Linked DNA regions of Homo sapiens: all the other regions are linked to region 3. The links are contacts of gene promoters, found by promoter capture Hi-C in blood cells and fetal thymus (Javierre and others, 2016). All regions are on one chromosome and are shown on one strand. Each heading gives the region's core, a stretch centred on a gene start or on the middle of the fragment in contact. The rest is flanking DNA. Distances are from core to core; before and after follow the strand shown.

The links. The method cuts DNA at HindIII sites, captures the fragments that hold promoters and counts their contacts. A CHiCAGO score of 5 or more calls a contact.
Region 1: a fragment that was not itself captured here is called in contact with the fragment with the promoter of KMT2B in region 3 in 1 of 17 cell types (neutrophils); the score reaches 5.5 in neutrophils.
Region 2: the fragment with the promoter of FFAR3 here is called in contact with the fragment with the promoter of KMT2B in region 3 in 3 of 17 cell types (M0 macrophages, monocytes and neutrophils); the score reaches 5.7 in M0 macrophages.
Region 4: a fragment that was not itself captured here is called in contact with the fragment with the promoter of KMT2B in region 3 in 1 of 17 cell types (neutrophils); the score reaches 5.9 in neutrophils.

Annotation. Positions count from the first base shown.
Region 1 is chr19:35,274,255-35,278,870 of GRCh38, reverse strand. It overlaps USF2 (upstream transcription factor 2, c-fos interacting), which reads right to left. Exons shown (of 10, transcript NM_003367.4): 8 at 79-173. Among named protein-coding and RNA genes, the nearest start is that of HAMP, 6.0 kb to the left of the region's middle. The HindIII fragment of the contact is 1,118 bases long and covers 1,913-3,030 here.
Region 2 is chr19:35,354,833-35,359,799 of GRCh38, reverse strand. It overlaps FFAR3 (free fatty acid receptor 3), which reads right to left and starts at 1,340. Exons shown (of 2, transcript NM_005304.5): 1 at 1,151-1,340; 2 at 1-920. The coding sequence starts at 909. RefSeq lists an enhancer at 1-19 and a silencer at 4,672-4,771. The HindIII fragment of the contact is 8,969 bases long and covers 1-4,967 here.
Region 3 is chr19:35,715,667-35,720,588 of GRCh38, reverse strand. It overlaps KMT2B (lysine methyltransferase 2B), which reads right to left and starts at 2,586. Exons shown (of 37, transcript NM_014727.3): 1 at 2,208-2,586; 2 at 1,048-1,120; 3 at 1-805. The coding sequence starts at 2,570. ZBTB32 (zinc finger and BTB domain containing 32) reads right to left here. Exons shown (of 7, transcript NM_014383.3): 4 at 4,759-4,832; 5 at 4,582-4,650; 6 at 4,292-4,456; 7 at 3,551-4,111. The coding sequence ends at 3,837. RefSeq lists silencers at 2,152-2,201, 2,252-2,331, 2,372-2,441, 2,462-2,511, 2,592-3,071 and enhancers at 1,797-2,354, 3,642-3,921, 3,474-4,033. The HindIII fragment of the contact is 14,363 bases long and covers 1-4,922 here.
Region 4 is chr19:35,332,787-35,338,116 of GRCh38, reverse strand. It overlaps CD22 (CD22 molecule), which reads right to left. Exons shown (of 14, transcript NM_001771.4): 3 at 5,193-5,330; 4 at 1,776-2,081; 5 at 96-362. Among named protein-coding and RNA genes, the nearest start is that of CD22, 6.3 kb to the right of the region's middle. RefSeq lists enhancers at 515-614, 655-804 and a silencer at 4,603-4,812. The HindIII fragment of the contact is 4,678 bases long and covers 765-5,330 here.

The DNA of each region.
Region 1 (4,616 bases), core at 1,222-3,721, 440 kb after region 3:
CCCATGGCTGTTGGACTTTCTGCATGCAAGGGTCGGGGGCCGGGACCACCGCAGACACTGAGGGTCCGGGGTGCTCACCGCTCCCGTCTTGCTGTTGTCTGCGTTACAGTCTGGAATGATTTTCGAAAGCTGGACGATCCAGTTGTTGATCTTGTCCCTCCGCCTCCGCTCCACTGCGGAAAACAGAGTCACAGCCACGGCTTCGCTGACGGATCATGCCTGAGCGGCCGTCCTCACAGGGCAGAGGCTCAGCCCAAGGACACCCAGGAACAGTGCAGGCCCCACCGAGACCACAGCCCTGGGAAGTGAGGGGCCGCACCCTGAGCCCAGCCGGCCCCCACCCCAGCTTCTCAAGAGGAACAAAGAAACGTGGGCCCTCCAGTGCCACACATGCTTTTAGGACGGGCATCAAAGGCCAGGCACTTGGAGATCATTTTGCAGGCCTGCCCCACCATACTTGTACAAATTTTAATCGACAGTTAAAAATAAGGAAATTTCTCATGGTAATTGGCATCACTGGCTTCTTTTGAGAAATGGAGCTCTGGTCACAGTGGGCACATACTGGAAGGCAGGGATGGACAGAGCCACTCTTCGCAGGACCAGTGCCCCTTTTTGGCTCCTGCGGCCCCTGCACTGCATTCTCCAGTCTCCCCAGAGACTCTGGCACCGTGATTTTGTTTTTTTTCCTCATCTCTAAATCCAAGTCTGACCATGTTTCACCCCTGCTTAAAATCCTTCCACAGGGCAATGGCAGATCCCAACTGGTACTTGCAGCTCCCAGGGCCTGGCCCACAAAGCACCAGCTCACCCAGGAAAGACCCAAATCCTATGTTGAAGGCCAGAGATGGCAACTCATAGAAGGTTTTACTTAAAAAACCCAGATTTGTGATTTTACTCCATAAAACTCCACAATCTCATGCCAACTGTGTCAGCTGGGTGGCAGCTATCCCCAGACAGAGCACATGCCTTTCTCTGGCCACATCCCATCCTGACACCTGCCTGGGGACTGTGTGCTGCGGAGCCTGAGACCCCTGACTCAGGACCTGCTAAAGCCAGGCTGTCCCAACCCTGGCTGCCAAGCCCCAGCACCAGGCACCGTGGGGACAGGAAAGAACGCTCAGCTACCCCCAACTCCTACCCCACGGACCCCCAGCCCCCTGCCAGGGTGGCTCATGCTGTCTGCACCATTTGTGGAGGGGAACGAAGCCCTATAGCTAGGGCACATGTGGCAGGAAGGCCAGGGGGTCTTTTCAAAGCCTTGGATAATGGTGATGAAACCGGTCAGGGGTCCAGTGAGCCTGAGAAGGAGGGGTGGGCCACAGCCTGCCCGTTACCCTCACACCCCGAGATCGGCAGCTCCCCAGACCTGCCGTTCCCTTGAAAAGGCTGGGGCCCACCCACCAGCAAACCCCTCTGGCTTCTCTGGGCTGTGGCCGCATGCTGCTGACTGGCCTCTCCCTGCCTCCAGTGCCTCCCACTCAGGCCTGAGTGACAAACCCTCCGATGGATGCGGACTCTCCTTCTCCCACCGTGACCTCTCTTCCCTGGCCCCTTCCATCCTTGTGCTCCCTCTTTCCTCCAAAACCAATAGCCCAAGATCAGTGCTTGCTATGGAGCACGGTCCAGGCCCTGCACTGGGCTCAGCGAGTGCTTGCTCCCCTATTACTATCGCGGTGCGCTGAACCTTCCCACCAAAGACAACCACACCCGCCTTTGGGAACTCTGGCCAAAAGCAGCAGCGGAGCTGAGAGTCCAGGCCTGGAGGCACCGCTGGCGCAGTCCCCAGCAGAGCGCTCCTCGCCCAGGGGTCTGTGGAGGAACTCGGCAGGCGGCCTCGTTTCAGCCTCTGCCCTCCCACAGTCCTCTCGAGAGCTGGGCGCCGGCTGCAGGTACATCCTCTCCAGAGCAAGCTTACTTCTTACACACCTACTCCCCGCCCTACTATGTGCCAGGCCCTCCGCCAGGCTGGGGTCCAGGGTGGAAGCAGCCCCGGTGCGCCCCATGGGCACTCGCAGCACCACTGTGGGCAAGTGGCACTAACCCCATTGCATTCGTGTCATCACTGAAGATGGTACAAAGTGCCTCGGGAACGCCAGGCGCCGAGCCATGGCCTCTGCATGGGAATGGGGGTGGGATGAATCCTCAGAGATCCAGGAAACATTCGGGCTGGTTTCTGAGAGAAAGACTCTAAGGCAGGCAGCTGGGAAGATCCCAGAAATGGTGGCCTGAAAACCATTTCAGGGTATGCAGGGGTGGGAAAAGGTTGTAAAGATCGGTTGTCAAGGCCTTGTGTGCTCTGCTCGCAGGTCAGGACCGCATCTCCTCCTCCTCCAGAGTCCCAGGCCCTTGAATCCAGGCCCTGACATTAGCAGGCGGTAATGCTGTCCAGCCTGTGGCTTCGGAAGACCATCATGGCACATTTGAAATACAGGAAGACCCATTAGGACCAAGGCCACGTTCATTCCACAGAAGCACTTCAGTTACTCCATAGGAAACTTAAAATTCAGAAGCTGGGTGGGGTGGCTCACGCCTGTAATCCCAGCACTTTGGGAGGGTGGATCACATGAGGCCAGGAGTTTGAGACCAGCCTGGCCAACATGGCGAAACCCCGGCTCTACTAAAAATGCAAAAATTAGCCAGGCATAGCAGTGCATGCCTATAATCCCAGCGACTTGGGAGGCTGAAGCACGAGAATTGCTTGAACCCAAGAGGTGGAGGTTGTAGTGAGCCGAGACCACATCATTGCACACCAGCTTGGGTGACAGAGCGAGACTCTGTCTCAAAAAAAAAAAAAAAAAAAAGAGAAAATTCAGAAGCGAAACCTGCCAGGACTGAAGGAAGAAATGGACAAATCCACAAATATAGTGAGAGACATGGACATCTTTCTCATTGATTGGTGGAACAAGTAAACAACAACAACAAAAATCAGAATAGAAAGCCTGAACACTCAACCAGCCTGACCTCACTGACCTGGGGGGACATTCTGCCTGACAGCAGCAGACACCTGTCCTCGTCAATGCCCCAGAAGCTTCCGCCAAGCTAGGACACATTCGGGCCCGTCGGGTAAGTCTCATCGAATTTCAAGGAACTGAAATCATACAGAGTATGTTCTCTGACCATAACAGAACTAAATTAAAAATCAATAACAAAAAGATATCTGAAAAACCCACAAATATTTGGAAATTAAGCAACCTGCCTCCAAATAACAGAAAGGTCAAAGAAGAAATCACAAGGAAAATTGGAAAACACTTTAAACTGAATGATAACAAAAACAACATATCCCAGTGGGATGTAGCTAAAGTGATGCTGGAGTGAACTGGCAACTCTAAATGTTGTTAAGCAAAGAGAAAGGTTAAGAATCATCTCAATCCCTGCTGTGAAACATTAATCCTGTAAAATAAAGATTTTAGTAGAAAATTGGAAAAAAAAAAAAAAAAAGAATTACCTTAAAAAGCTGGGGTTGGGGTGTGCCAGGGAAGCTAAAGCATGAAACCTAGCAAATTGAATCCAAAGTGAGTAGAAGGGGCCGGGTGCAGTGGCTCACTCCTGTAATCCCAGCACTTTGGGAGGCTGAGGCAGGTGGATAACCTGAGGCCAGGAGTTCGAGACCAGCCTGGCCAACATGGTGAAACCCCGTCTCTACCAAAAATACAAAAACTAGCTAGGTGTGGCAGCGGGCACCTGTAGTCCCAGCTACTTGGGAGACTGAGGCAGGAGAATCACTTGAACCGGGGAGGCAGAGGTTGTAGTAAGCTGAGATTGCGCCACTGTGACAGAGCGAGATTCCATCTCAAAACAAAACAACAAACAAACAAAAAACCAAGTGAGTAGAAGCATGAATTAGTAACATTAAGAGTAGAAATCAATGAAACGGAAAAAGCAATCTAATCTGGCACCTAAAAATCAGATTTCACATAAGTCTCGATTTCTAGCTTCTCAGAGTTTCTGGCAACAGTGGCCCTAGATTCTGACAGGGCAGCAAGGGGAAGGCACTGGGCAAGGGCCACCCTTCAGGCAGCGCACACATGCCCCAGATCACTGGGGGCCCCCCACAACCTTTCCTATCTTTTTCTGACACAAGGTCTGGGTCTGTTGCTCAGGCTGGAGGGTAATCTCAGCTCACTGCAACCTCTGTCTCCCGGACTCAAGCCATCTTCCCACCACAGGTTCCCAAGTAGCTGGGACTGTTACAGGCATGTACCACCAGGCCTGGCTAATTTTTAATTTTTTTGGTAGAGACAGGGTTTTGTCACATTGCCTAGGATGGTCTCAAACTCCTGGGCTCAAGTGATCCGTCCGTCTTGGCCAAAATGTAATCCCAAAAGTGCTGGGATTCCGGGCGGGAGCCACCACACCCAGCCACACACCCCTTCCTGAGATGCCAAGTGCACCTCCCTCCCTCAGGCCCCTGCAGGCATTTGAGTCTGTGACTCTGGGATAAGCTCCTGCAGTACCAAGAAGTGGTGGGAAGGAGGGAAAAAGAAGTGAGAGAAGCGGATCTGAAATCACCACAGAAGAGAAACTTGGGGTTTGTGGCCATAAGGGAAGAAGAGGGCAGAGTTGAAAGCGGCTCTGGTCTTAGTTTCTGGCTTGGGCAGCTGTGACAGGGGTAGCTT
Region 2 (4,967 bases), core at 91-2,590, 360 kb after region 3:
CTGCTGCCACTGGCCCCAGAGCCCACACAACCTCCTCAGCAGCTCATGAAAGTCGGCTTGGAACCCGGAGGAGGAGAAGTAGTAGACAAAGGGGTCGACACAGGAGTTCAGGGTGCTGAGAAGCGTCACGTAGATCCTCCACGCCGGGCTTTCACCGCAGATATAGCCCACGACATGGGACACGTTGTAGGGCCCAAAGCAGACAAGGAAGTTGAGCAGCGTGGCCGCCAACAGCCCCGCCACCCTCCTCTGCCGGCGGTGGCTGCCCCCTCTGCCGAGGATCCACACCAGGCGGCTGTAGCAGTAGCTGGTGATGATCAGCGGGACCACAAAGAGGACCACAGCCATCTCCAGCCGCACGGGCAGGAGGATGGCTAGCTGGTCCTTCCGGAACTCCAGGTAGCAGGTCCCATTGGTGCCCTGGCTGTGGGAGATGTCCCCTGAGAATTCTATGACGTAGACCACGCTGCAGTGAGCAGAGGCCAACAGCCAGCAGGCCACACTCACCAGACCTGCCTGCCCCAGCCTCGGCCGGGTCTTGTACCACAGTGGGTGGGCCACACTCAGGAAGCGTTCAATGCTCACAGCTGCCAGGAAGAGGGCGGTGAGATAGATGGTGGTGAAGAAGATGAATCCAGAGAGTGGGCAGAGGATGAAGGGCAGGGGCCAGTGCATGCCATTGGCTGCCTCCACCATGCGGAAAGGCAGGAACAGCAGCAGGAGCAGGTCCGAGGCGGTCAGGTTGAGCAGGAGCACGTCCACGGCCACCGGGCGGCGCTGCAGCTTGCCCACGAAGACCACCAGGGCCAGCAGGTTGAGGGGGAGCCCCACCAGGAAAGTGAGAAGGTACACCGAGAAGACGAACCAGTGATTGCCGGAGAAGTAGGACTGGTCGGGGCCTGTATCCATGGTGGTGGCCACTGGTGAGAGAGAGTAACATGGAGTTGGTAGTGGGGGCCCTAACGGCCTCTGGCCAGCAGCATCTCCCCTAAAAGGGCACGAGGTCACTACGCCCACCCCTCTTGTCTCTGGGTGCCTTCCAGGCGGGGTCAGCCTGCCTGTCTTCCTGAGCATGCCCTGTCCCCTGTCCCTTCCCCAGCAGAGAAGCACCAAGGTGCTCCTCCACCCAGCCCCTCGGGCCCAGGCTCACCTGCTTCTTTGAGACCCCAAATGCTCTGCCGCACAGCACCTTGCTGTCTCTCCAGACCTAGTGCAGTTGGCTATTTATCCGGCAGAACTGATAAAGACCTGGCCGTGCCCATGACGTCACTCACTGTTGAGCAGTGGCACATAGATGCCTTGAGCTCCGTTGCCAGGGCTGGTCAGCATGCTAAAAGGGGAACAAATTCCACAACTGCGTGCCTCCCTCCTCATGCAGTCTCAGCTGGGATGCTCTAAGCAGGCCCCAGCCGACGTCTTCCTCTCCCCTTCTTCACTTGAATTTTGTCTGCTTCTCTAGAATGGCATTTATCCAATTTGCCTTGTAAGGGCAGGAAGTGTGATGCAATGACAGAGAGCGAGCTCCGTGAGGTCTGTTTCTTCCTGACTTTGTGATTTGGGGGAAATGACTTAAATTCTCCATGTTTCTGCTTTCTCCCCTGCAGAACAGAGCTCATCATAATACCCATCTCATAGATCAACGCATTAACACATGCAAATTAAAACAATATGTAGGTCGATTAAAAGATTACTAATACATGTTGAGTGGTTTGACGGAAGCCTGGCGTGTGGTCGTGAGCAGGCAGCGGATGCCAGCTGCTATTTTCCCTGTCACTGGTGCAGGATTATCTCTGGGGTGACAATGTAATAATAATAACAATAATAATGGTGGTGGCGATGATGACAGCAGCTGCCTTTTCATGGGCACATAATCCATAGCAGACACTGCTTCTAGGGCAACGCTTTTATGTCATAAAATCCTTGTCCTTCACCGTAGGGAAGTGACTTGCTCCAGGTGATACAGCTTGTGAAATGTCACCACTAGGGTTCAAACCCAAGTGCTGTCCAGTTTCACAGGTGATCTATTAGTTCATTCAAACAATCACAGGGCACAATGAGATATGATTTCACATCCACTAGAATGGCCACAAGCAAAAAGTCAGACAATGCCTATGGTCGGCGAGAATGTAGAGAGATAGGGGCCTCATTCACTGCTGGTGAGAATAATGGGAGGTGGTGTCCCTGCTTTGGAAAGCAGGTGGCAGTTGCTTAAAAAGTTAAACATAAATTCACCATGCGATCCAACAATTCCACCGTAGGTATTTACTTAAGAGAAGTGGAAACTCAGGTCTACTTAAAGACTCAGTCCTAAATGTTCACAGCAGTGTTGGTCATAGTCACCAACAGTGGAAATGTTACCTGGCAGCCCATCAGCTGGTGAGTGAATAAAAAAGTGGCACATCCATATACTGGAATTCTATTTGGCAAAGAAAAGGAATGAGCTACCCATACACACTACAGCCTTATGTTGAGTGAAACAAGCCAGACGTAAAAGACCATGTACATATATTGTCAGATTTCATTTATTTATATGATATGTCCAGAATAGGCAAAGTTATAGAGTCAGAAAGTAGACTCGTGGTTGTCTGGGGGATGGAGGTAGAAATGAAGATTAAGTTGTTTTTTTTTTTTTTTTTTTTTTTTTGAGACAGGGTCTTGTTGTCGCCCAGGCTGGAGTGCAATGGTGCAATCTTGGCTCACTGCAAACTCTGCCTCCCGGGTTCAAGAAATTCTCATGCCTCAGCTTCCTAAGTAGCTAGGATTACAGGTGCCCGCCACCACGCCTGGCTAATTTTTGTATGTTTAGTAGAGATGAGGTTTCGCCATGTTGGCCAGGCTGGTCTCGAACTACTGACCTCAGGTGATCCGTCCACCCCAGCCTCCCAAAATGCTGAGATTATAGGCGTGAGCCACCCCGCCTGGCCCAAGATTAAGTTTAAATGAACATGAAGTAAAATCCTTTACTAGGGTCATGAAAATGTTCTAAAACTAGCTGATGGTAATGGACTCACACCTCAGTAAATTTACTAAAAATCATTGAATTGTACACTTAACATTGGTGAATTTGATGATATGTACATAATATCTCAATTAAGCTGTTAAAAGTGCAGCAGTAGGCTGGGTACGGTGGCTCAGGTCCGTAATTTTAGCACTTTGGCAGGCTGAGGTGGGAGGATTGCTTGAGCACAGGTTGTTTGAGACTAGCCTGGGCAACATGAGGAGACCCTATGTCCACAGGGGAAAAAAAAAAAAAAAAGAGAGAAAGAAAAAAGAAATTAGCTGGGTTTAGTGGCATGTGCCTCTGGTCCCAGCTACTTGGGAAGCTGAAATGGAAGAATCGCTTGAGCCCAGGAATTCAAGGCTGCAGTGAGCCATGACTGTGTCACTGCACTCCATCCTGAGCAACAGAGTGAGACTGTGTCTAAAAAAAAAAAAAAAAAAAAAAAACAACACGCAGTTGTGAACAAAAAGTTTTTGCTGTCATGCTGTTTACATTACATTTGGTGGTGAGGGCTTGGGGGATGGAGTAGGGGAAGGATCATGAAGACGTGGATACTGAAGAGGCAAAGAGCCACTGGAGGGAACATTGGGGCAGGGGAGTCACGGGTGCACAGACTTGGCCTGCTGGGGGAGCTGATAGGAGGTTTGGGTCTCACAGGAGTGAGAGGCGCCTGGGGTGGATCACACTGAGTCTCCTGGGCCCCAGGGAGGCACTGGATTTGCCCTAAGTGGGGGGAGGCAGGAGGAACTGGGAGAAGCAGCCCAGTACCCAGCAGGGGCTATGGAGCAGGAGTCAAAGAGAGTGGGCCCTGGCACCCTGTGATGCGGGAGGAGGCACTGGGGCTCCCTGGGGTGGAGTTTGGGTTTTTACTGAAATTCCCTGGTGTTGTCACTGCACAAGTGCCGGGCTTGTTTCTGGCTTCCAAAAGAAGTTACTTAATTTCTCTGGCCTGTTTCCATATTGATAAAACAGACATAGAACTTTCTTTGGAAGGCTAGTAGAGGCATTCATTCATTCATTGAGCGAACATTTACTGAGCACCTACTGCGTGCCACTCTGTCTTCTGGGCGCTGGGGATATATCATCAATTACAAGAAAAATCCTTGCATGCGTAGACATTTCAGCCTGAACAGAGCTCATTTGTAGAAATTGGTGCGTGCACCCCAGCTGGTGGCTGCCATTTGTTGTGCTCCAATACATCATCATGTGCATGGCATTGCTGTAATTTAGAGCAGGTGCCCAGGTGTCTGTCTCCTTCACAGCCACAGCCACTCCCTTCTGACCTCCCTCTCATGGATGTGGGATGCTATCCTTTGCGAAATGGACCACAAATACAGGGTTAACCCCCACACCCCCAGGTTTCCCAAATGTCCCCTGGCTCTTGGGGGTTCTGCTTGGAAGGATCACATCCTGCTTTTACCCCTTCCTTGCTGTAGGGCCTTAGGCAAGTTTCTTCATCCCATTCCAGGATCGTAGCTACCTGGTGCAGCACCTTTGTGCAAATTAGGTGCTCCCTTTCCAGAGGAGCCCATCCCGCACCAAGTGCTGCCTAAGGAGTGGCTGGTGTATTTCTTCAAATTAGAACACAATACTCCTTCCCTTGATGCAAGCAAGGCAGGCATGTGGCTTGTTGAGCAAAGCACAGGCTAGAATTTAGTCAGTGTTTGCTCCTCTGCCCAGTACCTTCGTGTAGTGAACACCCGCTCATCCGTACGGCAGTGGCAAGGCTAAACCACAGCGTTGTGTGAAGCTGAAGTGAGACAACACTCACTGTAGACACTCAGCGTGACACCCATCACGTATTACAGACTATATAGTTGACCTTTGAATAGCACAGGTTTGAACTGTGCAGGTCCACTTACTTGTGGATTTTTTTCAATAAATACATTGGAAACATTTTCAGAGATTTGCAACAATTTGAAAAAACTTACAGAGGAACTACAAGCCTAGAAATATATTTTTAAAA
Region 3 (4,922 bases), core at 1,337-3,836:
GGAGGTGAAGGGGCTGGAGGAGTCAGAGGCGGTGGTGGCAGCTTTGCCTCTTCCTTTTCCGCAGCTGGCATCATCTCCTCAGCTACAGCTCTTTCTTCCTTCTCTTCTCCCTCCTTGTCTTTTTCTTCTTCTTCTTTCTTCTCTTCTTCCTCGTCATCCAGCTTCTGTTCCTGCTTTTTCCAGCAAGGGCTCCCTCCCTGTCCAGATCCAACTCTTCTTTGGGGGACATCCTGCCAACTTTCCTCATGTTGACCTTGACCTTGACCTGATTCGAGTCCCAAGGACAATTGTCCCATCTTTACTTTTTTGGCCCTTGAAACAAACTTGATCACAAAGGGGAGCCCACCACCTCGGCCGCGGCCCCTGCCTCCACGGCCTCCACGGCTTGACTGTCCTCCACGCCTGGGGGTCCCAGGTCCTGGACCGGGCCCCTCCTTGCATTTCCAGCTGCCAGTCTGATGTTTCACTGGAACCACAGGAGGTGGGGGCTCAGGTTTGGGGATTGTCACAGCTGCTTCTGCCACCACTACTGCTTGCTGCTTCCTCCTGCAGGGGCCTGCTGGCCGTCCTGGGGGCCGTCCCCGAGACCGCCGGGGGGTGGAGGGCTCACATGCCCGGCTCCGGGGTGCTTGGGGTGCCTGGGCCCGCCGGAGAAGTTCAGTCAGTGCCTGCACCATCCGTTCTGTGCCTTCCTCACCCCGTTTCCGGGCAGGGGTCTTTGGGGGGGTAGGAGCCACATCTGCTAGGCGAGGAGGAGGAAGGGGGGTCGTCTTATGCTTGCGACCCCGACCTCGGGGCGCTCGACCTAAAAGGAGAATAGTTGTGGGGAGATGGATCAAGCCAGCCCTACACACAGAGGAAGGCGCTCCAGGAGGGCAGGGACTAAGTCTTGCTTGTGTGTTTCCCCCGCTGCCCAGACTAGCTTGGACTCTGAACACAGAACACATTCGGCAACTGACAGAGGCTAGTTGAACAGGGAAGAGCTGACACGAAGGGCGAGGATAAATTCCTGTGACGCTAAAGAGGTGGAGTTCCCCCGTCACTCACCTCGCTGGGATCGGAGCGCAGAGCGCAGGGAACTGGGGGCCACATCTTCATCTGAATGAAAACCCTGAAACTCCTGATTTAGGGGACCGGGGTGGAGGGGAGAAACAGCAGTCAGTGCCAAAGCCCTCGTTCCATCTGAGGTATCGAGGAATATCCCCAGTTCCCACTTAGCATACCCCTGCCTATTTAAAAAGAACGAAAAAGACTCAAAGGTCGCGGGTAGTGGAAGAGAGGGTCTCTCCCTAGGGATGGAGGCGCCAGGTATTTCGAACTCCGATCCCCAGTGCCGGACCACACCAGCACAGCCAAAGCCATGGTTCACTGGCCCAAGAGAGAAGACGACAGGGTCTCCTCAGGAAAGGCAGCAGGCCCCATACTCAGATTCCTTCAGAGTCCAATTCAGACCAAAGTGGGACCTCCACTGACACCCTTTCGGGCCACAATTTATTTCTGCATTAAGTTGGGAACAGGGGCCCGCAAGTGAAGGGGCGGGGAGGGCATCAGATGGCTTTCGTACAGGCTCCACTGCGAGCTCTCAGGTTGTTATTAACCGTCCAGGGCAACGCAACCCACACCTTCCTGCCTGTTCTGAAAGGCTGGGGGAGAAATCCTGAGCTGAGCTCTGACCTGCTAGAGTGCCCAGTCCCGGCCTTCATCCCACTCCTGTTCAACCCGAGCCCCAAGAGGAAGCCCTCCACCACTCTACCTGAGATGCCAAGAGAAACTGGGGCCCTGGAGAAACCAGGAGGTTGCGAGGCCCGGCGGGGCGGCCCACAGGTAAGAGCCCAGACAGCTCCAACCTGTCTGCCAAGGCCACGCTGCCGCTGTCAACCACGACTGGCTGGACATGCAGTCCCCACTGCCTCCTCGCCCAAACCTCCACCGCCCTAGCTTTGCCAGCTGCCGAAAAGGATCGGCCCAAGACACTTCAGCGGGACCGACATCGGGCGCGAGTGCCTGGCTGCAGCCGGGGCTTCTCTACCCACTTCCAGAGGCCCTTTCCCCCGGAAGCTGCATGCAGCCGCCCTCCCTCCGTGCCCCGTCTCTCCGAAGGAACCCTGAGGACCCGGCCTGCCCACGCCGCCCCCGGGACAACCCAGACCCCTGGAAGCCCCGGCCTCCGCCCCACCCGGCGCCGGGGACGCCTCCAACCGCCTCACCTCCTCGTCGGATTCCCCGTCACTGCTCTCCTCCTCCGGCACGCAGCCTCGACTCGGGCCCCAGCCCCGGCCCCGACCCCGTCCCCGGCCCCGCTGGACCCGCGGGCCGGCCCACAGGCGGCGGAGCCGGCGCAGGCCCCGGCGGAGCCCCAGCAAACGGAGCAGGGCCGTGTCCTCCCCGGGCTCGGCTCCGCCCGGCCCCGTCGCGCCACCGCCGCGCCGCAGAGCTACCCGCACTCTTTCGGCCCCGTTGCCCCGTCCGCCGCGGCCCCCGCCCCCGCCGGCGCCCCGCGGCCGGCCCGGGAAGCGGCCCCGCGCGGAGCCAGGCCCGGGGCAACTGCCGCCGCCCGCCGCCGCCGCCATCTTGGCACCGTGAGAGGGGCCGGGGAGGCGGGGGGAGGGGCGGCCCGTGCGCAGGGCCGGGGGGAGGGGAGAGAGCGGGGGCGGGGCGGGGCGGCCGCGGCGCACGACAACAACCAGCGCCGCCGCGGGAGACCGGGGGCCGGGCCGGCCACGCGCAGGGCACCACGGGAGAGGGAGTCCGCGGCCGGCCGGCGCCCTCGGACCGCACCTGGGGAGCACAGACCCCCGCGTCGCGGCCGCAGAGGGGCGAACCGCGGGGGCCTCCGGGAAATGTAGTCCGGACGCCTCGCTTCTTCCGCCGGCAGCCAGGGCGCGAGGGCCGGGACGGCGGGGTTCCCGGCCAGGACCCGGAAAGCGGGTTGCCGGGTCTCCGGGAGGTGTGGTCCTAGCCCCAGGCTCCTCCCATTGTTCTTGGCTAGGCCGGCGGCCCGCGTGGACTACCACTCCCAGGGTGCCGCGGGCTCGGGCCCCGGGACCCCCGAGGCCCTGGGAAATGCAGTTCGCGGCTGCAGGAGGCGTGGGCTGGAGAAGGAGCGGTGGAAAGCATAGTCAGTCTCCGTTCCAGGCGCGACCTGGCGGCGGCTTGGCACGGTGTGGAGGGAAGACGCCGGAGAGGCCGCGGTCTCGGGGTCCGTGTGCTCCCGGAGAGGAGGCGGGTGGCCGAAAGCAGGGTCGGAGCACGCGTTCCTCTCTCTCCCGGGCCGAGCGTTCCCAGATCAGACTCCGCGCGCCGTGGATTGCAGTGGAAGGGGCGAGTGACTTGCGGTCGCACAGCCCCCACCAGTCCAGGACCGGCATGCCGCAAGGTGTGCCCGGACACCGAGTCCTCGGGGCCGGCTGCCTCCTGGGGAGGACGGGGCGCCTCGGGGGTGGAAGAAGTGTCCATCCCGCTGGACAGCGGACGCAGGGCCACCAGGGGCCGCTACAGGACAAGGGGCGTGGGCGGGGGTGTGCACAGACTAAACTCGGCTTTCTAGTCCTGAAGGGAGGGCACAGGAAACTCTTTATTATGGTGATGAGATCGACAATCTCCCCTACTGTTAACCTTCGCTCCTGCACACTTCAGTGTCCTCACTCTGTAGGGCTCGCTGGCCTGGGCTTCTGCGACCCGCGATCGTCCAGGAGAGGGCACTCGGCGCCCTTCCTGGGGCGCTTCTGGGGCGGAATTTGCTAGGCCGCCGTAGCAGCGGTGCCAGGTCAGAAGCCGAGCCGGCCCGCTTTTCGTTCTTTAATTGGACTCTTGGCTAAGACGCTACCGACACCCCGTCAGGTGGTGGAGGAAGAAGGACAACAGGGAGAGGTCGAGGGCCGAGACGGCCTCGAGGAGGAGTAGAGGAAGGTGGAGCGGATGGTCCATCCGGGCGGGAGTTGGCTGGGCGAGTGACCGCGCATGTGCGCCTGCATGGAGGCCAGGCTGGGACAGCCGGCCCCGCACAGGGAGCAGCGGTACGGAGCGGCCCCGTGTGTCCGCAGGTGCTTGGTCATGGCCGAGAAGTCCCGGGAGCGCTGAGGACAAAGGCTACAGGAGAAGGGCTTCTCTCCTAGAGCGGTCGGAAGGGGAGGCCGGTGAAGGAAGGAAGAAGGCGGCGAAAGCTGGCCAAGTTAGGGGTGGATCGGGCCACGGGGCTAGGGGATTGCGCGGGAACCGGGCACACAGGTGGAGACTCAGGAGCGGAGTTGGGAAGAAAGCCGACAGTTCACACAGGGCAGGGCGCCCATACCTGTGTGGACTCGGTAGTGCGTCTCCATCTGATGCTTGAGTGAAAACCTCTTTCCACAGACAGAGCACGCATAGGGCCGAGACCGAGCAGGAGGGGCCGGGGGAGGGTGCGGGCGAGGTGGGCAGCCTGCCTTGTCCTCATGACCCGCACAGGTTGCAAGTGCGCCTGTGGGGACAGAGAAGGCAAAGGAGGGCAGGGCCAGGAATCCCAGCGCCAACTCACTGTACCATTCAGGCAGGAAATCAAGGGCTACAGTGGGGCTGAGGCACGAGTGCCCCCGCCCGACTCACCTGTGTGCCCCTGATCAGACTCTTCCATCTCCCCAGGGCTGAGCTGTGCGGGGCCCTGGGGGAGGGAACCTGGAAGGAACAGTGGGAGGTAGGGGCCCTGCTCAGGCTGGACTCCTCGAGCCCCAGCCCAGAGAAGACACCATGTTACAGGTGTATGCAGGACAGCGAGGGGCTTACCTGGGGTAGGGCTGGAGGAGGCCAACTGGTTCTGGCTCCAGAGCCCTTTGGGGGCATTTAGGGACAGTGGGATCCTGGGATGGGGTGGGGAAGAGTTACAGCCTTGGCTAAACCTGGGAGCCTGGCCCCTTCGTGAAGAGGGGGTATCCCAAGTCCTCCCCCGG
Region 4 (5,330 bases), core at 1,854-4,353, 380 kb after region 3:
TGTGCACACGGCCCCGAGAGCCCCCGTGGCTCCCCTCTCCGGGTCCACCCCTGCTACCTCCCTGCCTGGCCTGTCCCCAGCTCCGAGGGGCTCACACTGCACTTGCAGGAACACTTCTTCCGACCTTCCCGGGCCCACGTCATTGGAGACCTGACAGCAGTACTTCCCACTCTGGTCCTTGGTCACTTCGCGCAGGTTTAGCGTGAATGTATTCTGCTTCTTCAGCGAGGTCCCATCCTTGAGCCAGGATACCGTCGTGTACTCCGGGTTGCTGCTGCTGACCTCGCAGGTCATGGTCACAGAGTCCCCCTCCCTCACTATGGCATCACTGGGAGTGACCTTGATCTCCAACTTCGGGGTGTCTGGAGGAGCAGAGGGGCAGTCGGGGAGGGGGCGGGGAATCCTCAGAGGGTGGAGGGTGTGGAAAGTGCTTTTATTCTGACAAAGCCATGGCCTGCCAGTCCCTTCACCCAGGTGATGGTCACAGCCTCCTAACTCGGCTCTCAGCTTCCCCCTCCCACTTCCTCTACTTCTTGGTCTCCACCAGCAGCACGCAGGGTTCCTAACACCATCTACCAGACCTCGCCAATCCTGCTGGAAACCACGAGCGGGTTCTGTGCTTTGCATAGAATCCCAAACCCTCACCTCAGCCCTCGGGATCCAGAGTCCTGCTCCATCTCCTGCCTCCTGTCCTACCATGTGGCCCTCAGAGGCGGTGAACTTCAGCCTCTGAGGTCCTCCCACCCAGCTGCTGCCTCAAAGCTTTGAACCTGCCCTTCTCTTTCCCTGAAATCCTCCTCTCCCAAATATGTGCCGGCCTCAGCCACTCCCTCCGTTCCAGTCAGCTTAAGTGCTCACCTTCTTTTTTTTTCTTTTTTTGAGATGGAGTCTCACTCGTCACCCAGGTTGGAGTGCAGTGGTGCGATCTCAGCTCACTGCAAGCTCCGCCTCCTGGGTTCATGTCATTCTCCTGCCTTGGCCTCCCAAGTAGCTGGGACTACAGGCGCCTGCCATCATGCCTGGCTAATTTTTTGTATTTTTACTAGAGATGGGGTTTCACCATGTTAGCCAGGATGGTCTCGATCTCCTGACCTTGTGATCCCCCCGCCTCGGCCTTCCAAAGTGCTAGGATTACAGGCGTGAGCCACCGCACCCGGCCTAAGTGCTCACCTTCTTAGAGAGGTCTCTCTCCATCACTCCCCTCTCTCGGCCTTATTTTTTTCCTAACACACATATCACTACCTACAATAGTGTTGTATATTTCTTTGTTAACATTGCTTTGTTCCAGATTCTAATGTCTTGGCTCATGCTCTGTATTTCTTTGGTAATCCATTTGTTGTCTGTCTCTTTCACTGCAGCGCTGGCTCCGCGTGGGGCAAGAGTTTTGCTCACTGCTGCACCCTGCCCACCGCCCCATGCCCCCCATTGGCAGCCGTAATAAGGCCTGGTACCTAGTAGGTTCATGATACGTATTTATTGAATGAATGAGGCACAAGATAATGATGCGAAAAAAATCCCCACCAAGAGGGGAACAAAAAGACCTAACCAGATAATCCCCAATTCATGTCATGGCTTGAGGATGGACCATTTTATTCTGTTAGGCTAGAGCAAATCTTTTTCCCGAAACACCAGGGCTGACAAGGCGGCGTGACCAGGGCTGGAGGATGCCGCCGTCTGTGCAGGCTTCCCCCTGCCCTGGGTGCATGCCCCCTGCGGGGCTGGGGAGAAGGTGACACAGACCTTGCCCTTCCCACAGGCATGCCGGGGAGACTCACGCTTCACGTTCAGCTGCACCGTGTCATTGGAGAGGAACTTCCCATCTGCATCCTGAAGCTGGCAGGTCACAATCTTCCCATGGTGACTCCACTGTGGGGAGAACTTGAGCTCGCTCCGGGTGAAGACAGACTTGATGGTCAAGGAGGTCGAGGTGACAGCAGCCTGCCTCATTGGAACCCCCTCTAGGAGCCACTGCAATTGGATCGGATACCCATAGCAGGAGAAATTCAGCAAGCAGGTCAGAGTGACTTCCTGGGACTCTTGAATTTCTGGAGGGAGCTGGATATGAGGTGGAAAAGGCCTTTCTGCAAAAGAACAGAGCCCGTGCAGGAGCCTGGGGGACTGAGGACGTGAGCGTACACCTGGCTTTAGATGTCCTGTCCCAAATCACCCCTCAGGAACCCCTTGCCACTTCATTCCACCTCTCTCCAGTCCTGCTTTGTTTTTTTGTTGTTATTGTTGTTGTTGTTGTGTTGTTGTTTTTTTGAGATGGAGTTTCCCTCTGTCACCCAGGCTGGAGTGCAGTGGCGCGATCTTGGCTCGCTGTAACCTCTACCTCCCCAGTTCAAGTGATCCTCCTGCCTCAGCCTCCCGAGTAGCTGGGATTACAGGTGCCCACCACCACACCCAGCTAATTTTTCTGTATTTCTAGTAGAGACAGGGTTTCGCCATGTTGGCCAGGCTGGTCTTGAACTCCTGACCTCAAGTGATCCTCCCGCCTTGGCCTCCCAAAGTGCTGGGATTACAGGTGTAAGCCACCACACCCGGCCTCTTTTTTTCTTTAGAGACAGGGTCTTGCTTTGTCACCCAGGCTGGAGTGCAGTGGCGCAATCCTAGCTCACTGTAGCCTCAACCTCCTAGGCTCAAGCAATCCTCTCACCTCAGCCCCCTGAGTAACTGGGACTACAGGCATGTGCCACCACACCTAGCTAGTTTTTTAAACATTTTGTAGAGACAGGGTCTTGCCATGTTACCCAGGCTGGTCTCAAACTCCTGGGCTCAAACGATCCTCCGATCTCAGCCTCCCAAAGTGCTGGGGTTACAGGCGGGAACCACTGCACCCAACGCAGTCCTGCTTTTCTCCACTTTGAATCACTTTTGCTCACCCGAAATCCCCTCTGAAAGGCCTTGACCACACTAAGCCTCCTTGGGAACTGTGATCTACTTTTCTTTCATGCTCATTGCCGGATGTCTGCTTTCTGAATGATTGCAAAGTTCTATTCCCACCACCTCACCACCTCTTTTTTTTTTTTTTTTTTTTTTGAGACAGAGTCTCGCTCTGTCGCCCGGACTGGAGTGTAGTGGCGTGATCTCAGCTCACTGCAAGCTCCACCTTCCGGGTTCACGCCATTCTCCTGCCTCAGCCTCCTGAGTAGCTGGGACTACAGGCGCCTGCCACCACGCCTGGCTAACTTTTTGCATTTTTAGTAGAGACAGGGTTTCACTGTGTTAGTCAGGATGGTCTCGATCTCCTGACCTTGTGATCCGCCTGCCTCGGCCTCCCAAAGTTCTGGGATTACAGGCGTGAGCCACCGTGCCCGGCCTATTCCCACCACCTCTAAGTGAATTTTATCAGTTTAGTTCACGGACTTTTCAGCTTTGACAAACTTGTGTTACTTTCATGGCTTCCTTCAGTATTGCAGCCATCCACGCACCGCATTCCTTTAGTGGAGTGGGTCTGTGTGCACCCAGCCTCAGCTCTCCCCAAGGCTGGACCACCTCCTTCAGACAGCGGGGTCTGAAGTTGCATTGCTCACCCCAAATTTAAGGCTGCTCAGAACTGCCCATCCGGGAAACGGTGTGGAACGGAGTGACCACACTCCCTGTGGCAGGGGCCCCCCACACCTGTGTTTGATGGGTCAAAGCCACCCCTACATGTGCAGTGCTATAACTGAACCTATGTTATAAAAATTATAAGATGTTCGTTTTACTTCTTTTCTTTTCTCTTTGTCCTTTCCTTCCTCCATGCATGATTAGTTACATTTGGTCATTTCAGTAGCAGGTAACCATTAATTCACTCATAATTGTTTAACTTACATCCTGACTCCCTGGCAGCTGCCTGCAAGATAAATGAACTTGTCTCTCTTTCAAAGAACAATGATCCTTAGGTCACACAGACCTCCTTGATGACATCCAGAAATTTGATGAGCCGAGGGGCACAACAGCTTTGACGATCGGGAGGTCACCTCCTGCACACCTACTTTACTCATAAAAGCCCCCACTAACGCTCAAAGTCAGGTCAGATTTGAGAGTTTCTCTCTTCTGTCCCCTTGCTTTGGCTAAATTAAATAATCCTATCTCAGCTTCTAAGCACTGAGGTGTCAGTGTTTGGCTGACTACGCATCGGGAGCTCAAACCTGGCCTTTGGGGTTCAACAACAGTGTCATCTGACCTTGAAGAGCTCATGAGAACTTGCCATGAACATTAACATGCTGGGAGATTTCACTGGAAAATCTAGATTTCCATCGTCTCTTGAAAAATCAGAAGATCAGGCCGGGTGCGGTGACTCATGCCTGTAATCCTAATGCTTTGAGAGGTTGAAGCAGGAGGATTGCTTGAGGCCAGGAGTTCAAGACCAGCCTGGCAACATAGCAAGACCCATTTCTACAACAAATTAAAAAGTTAGCTGGGCATGGTGGCATGCACCTGTGATCCTAGCTACTTTGGAGGTGGGAGGATTGCTTGAACCCGGGAGATCAAGGCTGCAGTGAGCTGAGATCGCGCCACTGCACTCCAGCCTGGGTGATGACAGTGCGAGACCCTGTCTCATAAAAAGGGAAAGGAAGGGGAAGGGGAAAAGAAGAGGAAAAAAAGTAAAACAAACATTTTATGATTTTTATAACACAGGCTCAGTTATGGCACTGCACATGTAGGGGTGGATTTGACCCATCAAACACAGGTCTGGGGCCTCTGCCCTAGGGAGTGTGGTTACTCCGTTCCACACCCAGTTTCCTCTATAGGGAGCTCTGAGCAGCCCTAAGTTTGGGGTGAGCGATGCAGCTTCAGACCCCAATGTCTGAAGGGGGCGGTCCAGCCTGGGGGAGAGCTGAGGCTGGTTACATGCAGACCCACCCCACTAAAGGAATGCGGTGCTTGGATGGTTCCAGTACTAAGGCCAAACACGAGTTTGTCACAAAAGCTGAAAAATACATGGTGAGAAAGAAAGAGGGAAAGATCAGGAGATCCGATAACTTTGGAATCCAGGTCCCAGAGGGGCAGGAACTGAGGGTCAGATGGGACATCCGAGGTCCCGCAGCTCTGTCTAGTGCTGCTGCATCGCCATCGTCATCCGCTGGCGTCCCCTGCCTGAGCTCTGCAGGAAGCTCGGTTTGTGAGCTCTGTGCCAGGAGTCAGGTATTTCCTGCCTCCCACTCACCCCTGCCCAGAGCAGAGGACCCGCTCCCCGAAGGCCTTACCAGAGACATTGAGGTGTATTCGTTCCATCCATTTCTCAGTCTTGGACTCCATCCTCAGCCCCAGCTGACCACTGTCATTGAGGTGCACCGGGTGGATACTCAGTGTGCAGTTCTTATTCTTGTCTCCCAGGAATTGCA